Linked DNA regions of Homo sapiens: regions 1, 2 and 4 are each linked to region 3. The links are contacts of gene promoters, found by promoter capture Hi-C in human tissues and cell types (Jung and others, 2019). All regions are on one chromosome and are shown on one strand. The core of a region is centred on a gene start or on the middle of the fragment in contact, and the rest is flanking DNA. Distances in the headings are between cores, read along the strand shown.

Region 1 (2,700 bases), core at 118-2,617, 50 kb before region 3:
TAGTCTTCACATCCTCCAATGTTACCATTCCCACTCATATTTCCCTGAAGAGGCAACTAAAGTTTAAAGAGATTAAGGTGAATTACTTGAAGTCAAGTGCATCTGATCCTGATTTTCTTGAAAATCACACACCTGGGATGGTATGTGACTTGCCAGCCGCCATCTCTCCTCCCATGTTCATGGCGTCTGTTCCCATTGAGCCTCAAGACAGCCCCACCCCCAAGATCATTCTCAACTCAGTTCCCTAGGCAGGCACTACCCATTGGTCAAAATTGGCATGCCAGATGAAACCCACTTGCCAAACCCCCTCATCTCTCAAGGAATGGAGGCTCAGAAAGGCCAGGTGACTTGCTGAGGCCATCCAGCAAATGAGTGGTGGAGCTGGGATGGAAATGCACCTGGGAAAGGGATACTGCCTACCAAGAATCTCCCACACTTAGTGACGGTCCTACTGGCCTGTAGGGAGGCCGCTCACCCGCGAACGGCGTGCAGCAGGCGCAGCGAGGGGTATGCAGTGCGCACGTTGACGTGGTGCTTCAGGATAAGCTCGTTGACCCACTCAACACGCTCCTTGCCGCCCCGGGCCATGAAGGCAGGGATCCACAGGATGCTGCCATTGAGGCTGTGCAGCCGTTGCAGCAGCTTCTCCCGCCACGTGGCATTGACCAAGTCCTCAAAGGCCCGCTGGATGACCGAGGGGTTCATGGTTACCAGGTCTGTCTTGAGCCCCACATCCCGGGCATACTCCTGTACTGGGGCCAGGTTGCACCTGCCGGAGAAAAAGGCAACATGATCCTTTTGGGAAAGCTGAGACCCCTTCCTCTGTTTAACTCGATCCCATCCTTTGCCTCTCCTTGCTTCTTTCTCATCCCCAAACAAAGACCCAGGGCATCTCTCCACACTCACAGGCCCCTCCCATCATCCTTTCTCCTCCTTTTTCTGCCACAAAGGTTTACTGAGCTCATATCGTGTACCTAGAACTTTGCTAGACCCTGTGGATGTAAATGCCTGTCTTCTGGAGTTCAGGATCTAGGAGAGGAGGAAAGAAGCAAGTAAGCCAGTCCTCAGTCCACAAGATGATGATGCTGTTGCCAAGAGTGATCTGGCCCATTAGGTGACAGAGTGAGGGATCTGAAGGCAGACTCCCAGGCTCTAAACTGGCTTGGACACTTTCTACCTGTGTGAGTCTGGGAAACTTGCTCAACCTCTCTGTGCTTCCTGAGACCTTCCATTACTTTAGCTTTGATAGAGATCACAACAGCATCCCTCCCAAGGATTAAAAGAATTGCTATATGCCCAGTACTTAGAACACTACTGGATATAATAAGAGCTTGATAAATGCTAACTGTTGTCATCGCTCTTATGGGAAGGAGGAGTGTCAGGTGGACTTCCCTGAGGTGGTGACCACTAAGCAGAAGTCTGTTAGTGGACAAGGTACACGAAAAGAGTGCTTCTCCAGTTTGCCAAGTCAGAAGAATCACCCCAGGCGCTCGTTAAAAATATAGATTCCCGGGTTCCTCGGCTGGAGATTCTGATTCAGCAGGTGAGCCTAAGCATCGATACCTATTTTTCACAAGCTCTTTCTCTTCAGGTAGTGTTATAGCCAAGCAGGTTAGGAATACCATGCTAGAGCACTGTAGGCACAAGAAAGGCATCCAAGGGCAGAGAGGTGAGAAACAGCATGGGTGTTTAGGGAAAGGCAAGTGATCTGGTCCGACTGGAGCATATTGTGTGGAGGAGATGGGCTTGGGGAGGCAAGCAGAGTGAGATATCAAAGGACCTGTGTGCCAGGGACTTGGTTCTGGGGGCAATAGGGAGCCACTGAGGGTTCTGGAGCAGGAGAGTGACAGGGACGGTTTAGAATTTTTGGCCACGATTAGAAAGCAATGAGATGAAGTTGCAGTATGGATTGGAGGGGATGGATTTGGGTACTGGAGGGCAAACTAAGAGGCCACTGCAAACTCATGCTGACAATCAGGCTGCCTGGGTGAGCAGCCTCTGCTATTTAACCTGATGACTTCCTTGTGGGAGACCCGGCCTGGGTGTGCACACCTGGGTTTCCTGCCTGTGCCTAGGACTGGGATGGCAGCAGAGGGCACTGCAGGGGAGGTCTGGCTGCTGTCTGGCACAGAGGATTTAATGGTGGAAAAGCCCTTTGACCAGTGAAAATAAGTCTGAGAAATCCAGTTAAGAGTGTAAAAATAGAGGCTGGAGACATGAAGACAAGGGATCACAGGTCATCATCAAACGAAGAAATCCAGGAACGTACCATTTATCCTCCCTTTAAGCAAGGACTTTCCTTTTTCAACAACTGGGGAGAAAAAGTGGGTTAATCAGAAAGAAAACTAATATTTTTTGAGCCCCTGGTGTGTGCCAGGCACTGACTGGTCCTTTAACATAGGTCAGCTCTTTTTTTTTGTGACCCAGTTTTAATCACCCTCCTGTCACACAGGAGGAAATGGAGGCCCAGTGTGTGAGAATCAACTTGCTCAAAGGCCCAGAGCTAGAAAGGGAACCACCAGGAGTCAAGATCAGGTATATTTGACTCAAAGAGCCTGTTTGTGATTTCAGACTGAACCCCCTAAAATATCGCGTCTTCCCATCCCTGCCCCTAGGCCTTGCTATCTTTGACTGTGGCTAAACATTGTAAGCAGATAGGATTGCCCTGGGTCAATTCACCTTCAGGAGCCCTTGCCACAG
Region 2 (2,700 bases), core at 91-2,590, 62 kb after region 3:
GAGCCTTGTTTTGAAGAAGGCTGAGGATTACCCCTGAACTGGCCTCGACCCACACAGGCCCACCATCCTGTGGCAGTCAGTGGGAATGGGCTCCCTAGGTACATTGTTCTATTTAACTCTCATCACAAGTAGGGGGTATGGTTTTATCTTTATTATTCTGTTGATAGAAAATACAACACTGAGGTTACTTGACTCTTCCCAAATCATATAGCTAGAAAACAGGAGAACGGGTCTACTCACCAATGAAATTAAACACTTTGTTTTTTGGCACACATGAGCCATGTACTGGAAATGGATTCCAATAGGGAGGAGAGGACAGATTTAAAAAGCAAATAATTATCACACCATACACAGGGGCTCATGACTGGGCTCTGCTCCATTCTTAAACCCAGTGTTCTTCTGTACCCCCTATACCGAACCATCCTTCATTGGTAATCCAGGTGGGAGATAGTAGTGACTTAGACCAGGGTGTACATGGTGCAGAGTCATCAGATTCTTGTAAGAAACAATCAATTCTTATATTATTAAAGTTACTCCAGATAAGGACAATAGGAGAAAAGAAATGTATAGTCTTATTTTATGTATTAATGTAGAAACAAAATCCTACACAAAATATTAGCAAACTAAAACCAACAGTGCATTAAAAATATACAAGGAACCCCTTGTAGATAAATAAGAAAAACAGCAACCTCAATAGAAAAATAGTCAAAGGATGTGGACATATAATTTATGAAAGAGGAAATCAAAAGCATCTGAGGAAATGCTCAAAATTATTACTAATCAAAGAAAGGCAAATACAAAATAAAGATAATGCCAAATATTGGTGGATACTTAGGGAGGGGAAGCCTTGGGCACTGCTCCCAGGAGAGCAGACGTACATGGGCATTCTGTAGAGTACAGCTGGTTCACTTAATTGAGTTCAATTAAGTAGATACACACTGCATGACTCAGCAATTCTATCCCTTGCTATGCAGTCCAAAGAAATCCTTACACAGCTCCCCAAGGGACATGCATATATAAAGTTTTTCACTGCAGCACTGGTTGAGGTGCCAGAAAGCTGGAGACAACCTGGCTGTCTGTCTTCTGTAGATTGGATAGGCAAATGTGGTGCGTGTACACAGCGGAGTATGGTGCAGCAGTTTAGAAACCACAGATTAGTTGTAGCCATAGCAACATGGATGAACTGTTTAAGAAATGGTAATTAGTGAGAAAGGTAAAATGCCAAAAGAAATCTATAGCTCAGTTAAAAAACGGAAATACATGCATACAAAACAACACTATTTTGCAAGAATACGTACAAACAGAAGCACAGAATGACATAGGGATGGTTTTCATCATTAGAAGGGAACCAGGAGTGGGGTGTATCTGTGAAAGTTCCAGCAGGAAGCAGGTGGCACCCCTAAATGAAGATAACTCAAGATAAGTGTATGTACAAAGGTGTGGGAGGGTGTAAGGAAACTCCCAGAGGTAGTATAGAAACCTGGAGTTACTGGAAGTAGAGCTGTTACTTCAACGCAGCCTGAAGGGAGGGAGGAGGGAACAGTTACTACAGGAATTCAAAGGGAAGAGAGAGTTCTTGCTCCAGGAGAGTGGTAGTGGCCTTCATGGTTGAGGGACCTAGCTAGGGACCTTGACCTCATCTCCTCTCTTCCTTGTCCAGCTAGAGCTCCCCATGGGCCAATCCAACAGAAAGCCAAAGGGCAAGGAAAGCCATTGATATAGCCACTGAAGCCTGCCTCTTGGACAGAAAGAAGTGTGAAGAAGTGTATTGGGGGATTGGGTCTGGAGGGACAAATGGCAGCTGTGTGACTAATGGGCTATGAGGAAAAAGGGTGCTAGTTAATAAAACAATCAAATAAGTATAAACATAGAGGGAGGGCAAATAAAGACAATTTTCTACCTAAGAGGAATCCAGGATCAGTGGTAAAAAAAAAAATGAATTTTTTAGACCACATATTGATATCCTACACTGTGTGTTTGACACAAGTAAATTTGTTTTCTATGTTCATATTTATCATATTTACCATAAAGTTTGTCAGTTAACATGTAAATGAAAACACCAGTGATCTCAAATAATAGTAAACTTTTGGAAATGTAACCTTCGAGTATGCACGTTTTTATTAGACTTTTCAGAAATAGTTACATAAATGGAATTTCTGAGCCAAGCTTTTATATAATCCTTGCAGACCTGCAGCATCCCCTGGGACCCTAGAGGTTTAGGGCCACAGTTTAAAAATTACTTTCTTGAATGAATGCATATCTCTCTGTGATTATCTAATCCAAGCCATCAATCTCCATAATGTCTCCTCTCTTCCAGCTCCGGCCTTTGATTAATCCAAATTTCTCCTAGTTTCTTTTATTACAGTGTATTAATGTTTAAAATACCATAGTCTATAAGAGTGCAATTAAGTGGCCTCTGGAAAATTCCACTCCTTCTTGCACTTGAATGATGAAGCTTCTGAAAATGACTTGACCATAATGTAATCAGAGGACAGGCCTTCTTCCCCCACAACCCCCACCCTTTCTCACAGTTGGATGTTAAATGTGGCACTTGTGAACATCACTGGAACTTGCGAGGTGAGGCACAATGAAGTCCAGGCTTTGAGATCGGCAGTGACTTCATGAGGCCTGAGGCAATGACAAAGAGCCCCCAGGTAAGGTGGCTTCCATTATGGGTGCTTTCCCCAGACCCTGCAGGGA
Region 3 (2,700 bases), core at 113-2,612:
ACAGAAGAAGAGACCTTCTGCCCTCTTTGAGACCTCACCTTCCCCTTGCCCAGGGCCAGGAAGCTCTCCTCGGGCCTCCTCAGAACCCCGGCTGCCTCCCCACCTGTCGTCTACCGCCCTTTGGAGGTTCCGGAGAGGGGCCCGGCCCGGCGAGCCGAAGGCTGCGGGGCGGGGCGCGAGTCTCAGCCCCTGGGACACACAGCCGGTGCGTCCCGCGCCTCAAGTGCGCACTCCAGGAAGTCCGGAGCCGGGAGGATCCGGGCTCGCGGTCCCACCCTACCTCTGGCGAGGTCGGGAGAAAAAAAGCGCCAGATCGCCCGCCTGAGGGCCCAGAAGCCCACCGGGCGGCGGTACAGACTTTCCCGAAATGTCTCCGTCTCCGCGCTGCGAGCGCACAGGAACCCAGGGTCGCCGGGGTTGCCGTGGCTTGGCTGAACGTCCAAAGCCAGGCGAGGGCGGGGGGTCTCAGTCCAGCTATGCGAGCCCTTCTCTAGTGGTGCCAGCTCCTACGCCGGGCTCCCGGGCCGGCGGGAGGCGCGTGTGCCTGTCTGTGTGTGCAGGGGACATTCCGCTTCCCAGTAGCCCATGCAGAACCCCGCCCTCCGCTCCGGCCCCAGGAACCCCTCCCCCAGCTCAGAGATCCCTGCGCGCCCCCTGCCCACTTTGCCAAGGCGAGAAAGCGGCCGTGCTGGAGACAAAGAAACTCCTGCCTCCCTCCACTCTCGGCCCCTCCGCCCGCCCGAGACACTCCCCGGCGCCCTCCCTCGACCCCGGCGACACTGCGCTTGGACACGCCAGGCAGGGGGGCAGGGTGGGCGAGTCCGCTTCCCGACGCGGGCCAGCTGGGGGCTTCCCGTGAACCCCGCCCGGGGACACCCCACAGCAGCCGCGCCCCCACCCTCCTCTCCCCAAACCGTCCCGGGCCCCTGTCGCCGCCACCTTCTGCCAAACCGTCCCCATCTCTCCAGCGGAGCTACAGCGGGGCGCGGCGCACACAAAGGGGGTCGGAGGGTGGAGAGTACAGAAGGAGGGAGAGATCCCGCCAGGGCTCGTGGCACGGGCCTGGGAGCAGCTATTTACCCGATTTCTTCTTCGATCTCTGAGATGTCTGCGAAGATGAGGAAGACCACGAGCAGCGTGAGCGCGGCCAGCATCCAGCTCCGGAACTGCAGCTGCATGGTGGGTTCGCGCCCGCCGGGACCCACGCGGGCCGGCGCGAGGAGCAGGGGCCGGAGGGCGCAGCGGCGGACGCCGGAGCCTCCGCGCGCCGCGCGCAGCTGGGCAGACACCCTGCGCTCCGGACGAGTCCGGGCCGGCGGCGGCAGCGGCAGCGGCAGCGGCAGCGACAGGCAGGGGTTGCTCAGGCGCGGCGAGCCCGCTCGCTCCCTCCCGGCTCCCGCCTGCCCCTCCCTCCCTCCTCTCCCTTCCCCCGCCCCGCGCCCGGCTCCGCGCGCAGTTTGACAGCTTTGCTCCGCGCCTCTGCTCGCCTCCTCCCACCAACTCCAGCGTCCAGGCGCTAGCCTTTGCTTCTCCCGCCTGGCTTTATTCAGCTCCCGAGGGCGCGGGGATGCAGCCGGACGCCACTCCTGGCCTAGAGAGACTGGGCTCTGGCCACCGCGAGCGACCGGGTACGGAGCTGAGCCCAGGGAAGTGCGCGCACCGCCCGGCGCACCCCTCAGGCTGGCAAACGCCCTCCCTCGCCCGCTCTTTGTCCAGCTCCCTCGCCTCCTCGCAAAGTTTTCTCGACACAAAGACCAACACCTGGGGACAGCCCCCAGCGCGCGGCGAGAAGGCGGTTTCAGCCAGGCAGATGTTTCAGCAGTTGATGAATTAGGAGGGGAGGTGGGGGAAGGGGAGGAGAGAAGAAATATCCAAGACAGGCCAACTTCAGTGAAGATGCTGACTACAGTTTGTGGGCGAGGCTCTCAGCCCTCGAGAAACCACTCCCTCCAGGTGCTGATCTTTATCTCCATTTATAGACCCGATACTGGGTCGGGAGAGCTCTCCGAGCTGCCCCCAGATCACGCAGTCCTGGCTGGAACCCTCGGCTAGAACCCCAATGGGAGACTCAGCGCCCGCCTTCCCTCCGCCCTCGCGGTGCTGACGCCGGGTGGCCTTCATCTCCCCAGTTCTTGGACTCTCAATGACCCTAAGATCAATAACCGCGGGAGGCCTGTCTTGATCAAAATGCCTTCTAGAAAAATATGGCTCCCACAAGGGGTAATGCCCCCCACCCTTCCGAATATTGTACACTTTCACAGCCTTAGACAGTTTAAGTCAAATTACATTTCACACCAACCATTGGCCAGGGGTGGGAAGGGCCCCATTAAGTTTTACTGGAATTAGATAATTACCTTTTATTTTCTTTGCACGAATTGGAACAATTCCTGAAATTAAGAAATGTAACTTTCCAGAAATGATCATCTGGTTTATGAAAGGGTCCTTTGGGTTTGAGTGTGGGGAGGAGGAGTCCTGTTGGAGAAGCTACATGGAATGTCCTAAGTGCTGGAAACCACACCCCAGTGAATGGGAGGGGCGTGTCGGCCTTATCCCCTGGACCACTCAGAGGAGTTTGGCGAGGGGCTGGCAGCAGCCAAGTCCCTTCATGGCGCCCCCGGGGATGTAAGAGGGCCTTCTGATTTTCTACCAAAGTACTGCTTGTGCCCAGAGCCCTTCTGCCCCTTCGTGTGTAAGGAGGGG
Region 4 (2,700 bases), core at 105-2,604, 36 kb after region 3:
AAAGTGACTATAAAACATTTAAAAATAACATAGACTTGAAAAGAAATTTAGCTCTTTTATGAGGGATGAACCTTTGTTCTTTTTTGTTTTGTTTTGCTTTTTCAATAATCAAGAGTATAATAAAATTGACATAAGACACAGAAAATTGTTAATTATTGATAATTGATAATTACTGATAATTACTTCTAATAACAAAATTATTCTGAATCTTTTATGTCTTGGATGATCACGCAGAAGGTAAAGAATATTCTTTCATATTGTAGGTAAAGATATTGGTCAGTAAACAAGAAAACTCGCCCTTCAAAATGAAGCAAACTCTGCCAAAATGTTGACATGTCTCATATTTTCTTTTTAGATTCAGGCATTATAAACTAAGGAAAATAAAATTCACTTCTCATCTTTTGTCTTTCATTTACCTTCATATTCTGGAACAGATTGGCTTGAAAAAACAAAAGCACATAGGCTCTTACATTTCTTTGTGTTCCTAGTAGACAGTTATGGTTTGGCTGTGTCCCCACCCAAATCTCACCTTGAATTGTATGCCCACAATTCCCAAATGTTGTGGGAGGCACCCAGTCAGAGATAATTGAATCATGGTGGCAGTTTCTCCCATACTGTTCTCGTGGTAGTGTTTTCATGGTAGTCTCACGAGATCTGATGGTTTTACAAGGGAAACCTGTTTCGCTTGGCTCTCATTCTCTCTTGCAGCCATCATTTAAGAAGTGCCTTTTGCCTTCCGCCATGATTGTGAGGCTTCCCTATCCACGTGGAACTCTAAGTTCATTAAACCTCTTTCTTCTGTAAATTGCCCAGTCTCAGGTATGTCTTTTTTTAGTTTTATTTATTTATTTATTTATTTATTTATTTATTTTGAGATGGAGTCTTGCTCTGTCGCCCAGGCTGGAGAGCAGTGGCCCAATCGCGGTTTACTGCAAGCCCCGCCTCCCGGGTTCACACCATTCTCCTGCCTCAGCCTCCCAAGTAGCTGGGACTACAGGTGCCTGCCACGACCCCGGCTAATTTTTTGTATTTTTAGTAGAGAGGGGGTTTCACCGTGTGTTAGCGGGGATGGTCTTGATCTCCTGACCTCATGATCCGCCTGCCTCGGCCTCCCCAAGTGCTGGGATTACAGGAGTGAGCCACTAAGCCCGGCCTCAGGTGTGTCTTTATCAGCAGTGTGAAAATCGGCTAATACATACAGTCTTAATCATCCATATTAATTATGACTTTTAACTTAAGTAACTTCTATTTCACAGAGAAAATTTCGGGGTAGATAATTGAGAACTGTCTGTCATATAGAAGCATTTTAGCAGACTAACAAAGCTTGTGATACACATAATACAATTTTCTTCATCTAGACATTTACACTTCAAAATGAACATGTTCGTTAATATGATCCAAAAATATAGCTGTATAGCATGTAAAGATAAGAGTCAGAAGTCCATAAACTTTATGCTTAGTAATCAATGTTGTCATATTCTATGTTATTTAATAGGAGATATCTGGGTTTCTAAAATCCATTAATTAATTCACTTTAATATTTGTCTAAGTTTTAATTTAACTAAAGATGTTGAAAATTATGTCTAAACTGGTTCACTCTGAAGAATAATTGCTGTTGATATGAAAAGTTTGTCAGAATAATTCAACTTAGTTGAACACAAATTTATAATTTTCATAATCTTAAACATCATGTAGGAGTTTGTTTAGTAAATTAGTAGTTATTAGCTTATTTGATTAGTAAACCTGTACATGTTTAGAAGATTCAGATAATTATTTTGTCCTTGAGAAAACAAACTCAAGTAAAATAATGTGTACTGTTATATTATACTTAACACTCATAAATCAGAGAATAGACAGTTTTTCTTAACCTAGTGTGATTTCCAAAATTTACCTTAATTATGTAAACTTGGTTTCTTAAAATGTTTGAGTGAACAATTTGTGAAAGAAGGATTTTTTAAAAGTGTAGTCTATGATGTTAAAGTATAAATTCAATGTTTTATTTTCTAAAAATTTTAGAAATATTCTATTTATACAAGTGTTTATCTTTATAAACTAACCAGAACAGAGCCTCCTGTAATTTTAGAAACATTATAATCTAATTTATTAATACCATCCCATAATAAGAAAACAATTCATACGTCTACAAGGAGAAGTCAAGGCCTTTCTCAATTACAGACAAATGATCATATAGAGTTAGTAGCTTCAGTGCTACAACTTTAGCCAGAAGTCAAAAATAAATACAGAAACACCAAAATCTTCTGGTCCAGATTTCAAAGAGTCAATCTACTTTCTGGTGGATATGAAATTCTTAATTGTTTTCAGCTCAAAATAGACAAATAGACCAATGAACAGGAAGGACTAGCAAACCAGGTATCTGCCATCTCTCTCTCACTCAGTAGAGACTAGATCTGTATCATCCCTCTGCAGAGATTACCGAAGAGTTAAACCATAAAACCAAATTCATCATCATTACTGCCATCTTGGGGAATTAATTTATTGGCTCTGTGTGAACCACTGACAAAACAAAGGCACCAAAATAGTCGAGAGGAAACAACTTCCCTTTTTGCCTTTCCTCTTCACTGACCCTCTTGTTTAGAGAAAGCTCCCTGCTGCTGTGGCCTGAGTCCCACGGGCAGCTCTGGGCGGAGCAGATGGTTTCAGCATGGCCTTTGCTGATGGAAGTCAACACCACTCGTCTGA

The links. The method cuts DNA at HindIII sites, captures the fragments that hold promoters and counts their contacts. A contact is called where the count stands out against the background at its distance.
Region 1: a contact is called between a fragment that was not itself captured here and the fragment with the promoter of ST8SIA2 in region 3, in 1 of the 25 tissues and cell types used here (small bowel).
Region 2: a contact is called between a fragment that was not itself captured here and the fragment with the promoter of ST8SIA2 in region 3, in 1 of the 25 tissues and cell types used here (aorta).
Region 4: a fragment that was not itself captured here is called in contact with the fragment with the promoter of ST8SIA2 in region 3 in 2 of the 25 tissues and cell types used here (aorta and mesendoderm cells).

Annotation. Positions count from the first base shown.
Region 1 is chr15:92,442,705-92,445,404 of GRCh38, reverse strand. ST8SIA2 (ST8 alpha-N-acetyl-neuraminide alpha-2,8-sialyltransferase 2) reads right to left here. Exons shown (of 6, transcript NM_006011.4): 5 at 476-769. Among named protein-coding and RNA genes, the nearest start is that of C15orf32, 28 kb to the left of the region's middle. The HindIII fragment of the contact is 4,665 bases long and covers 1-2,700 here.
Region 2 is chr15:92,330,952-92,333,651 of GRCh38, reverse strand. No RefSeq gene overlaps it. Among named protein-coding and RNA genes, the nearest start is that of ST8SIA2, 62 kb to the left of the region's middle. The HindIII fragment of the contact is 5,298 bases long and covers 1-2,700 here.
Region 3 is chr15:92,392,543-92,395,242 of GRCh38, reverse strand. It overlaps ST8SIA2 (ST8 alpha-N-acetyl-neuraminide alpha-2,8-sialyltransferase 2), which reads right to left and starts at 1,362. Exons shown (of 6, transcript NM_006011.4): 1 at 1,081-1,362. The coding sequence starts at 1,178. The HindIII fragment of the contact is 17,571 bases long and covers 1-2,700 here.
Region 4 is chr15:92,356,441-92,359,140 of GRCh38, reverse strand. No RefSeq gene overlaps it. Among named protein-coding and RNA genes, the nearest start is that of ST8SIA2, 36 kb to the left of the region's middle. The HindIII fragment of the contact is 3,846 bases long and covers 1-2,700 here.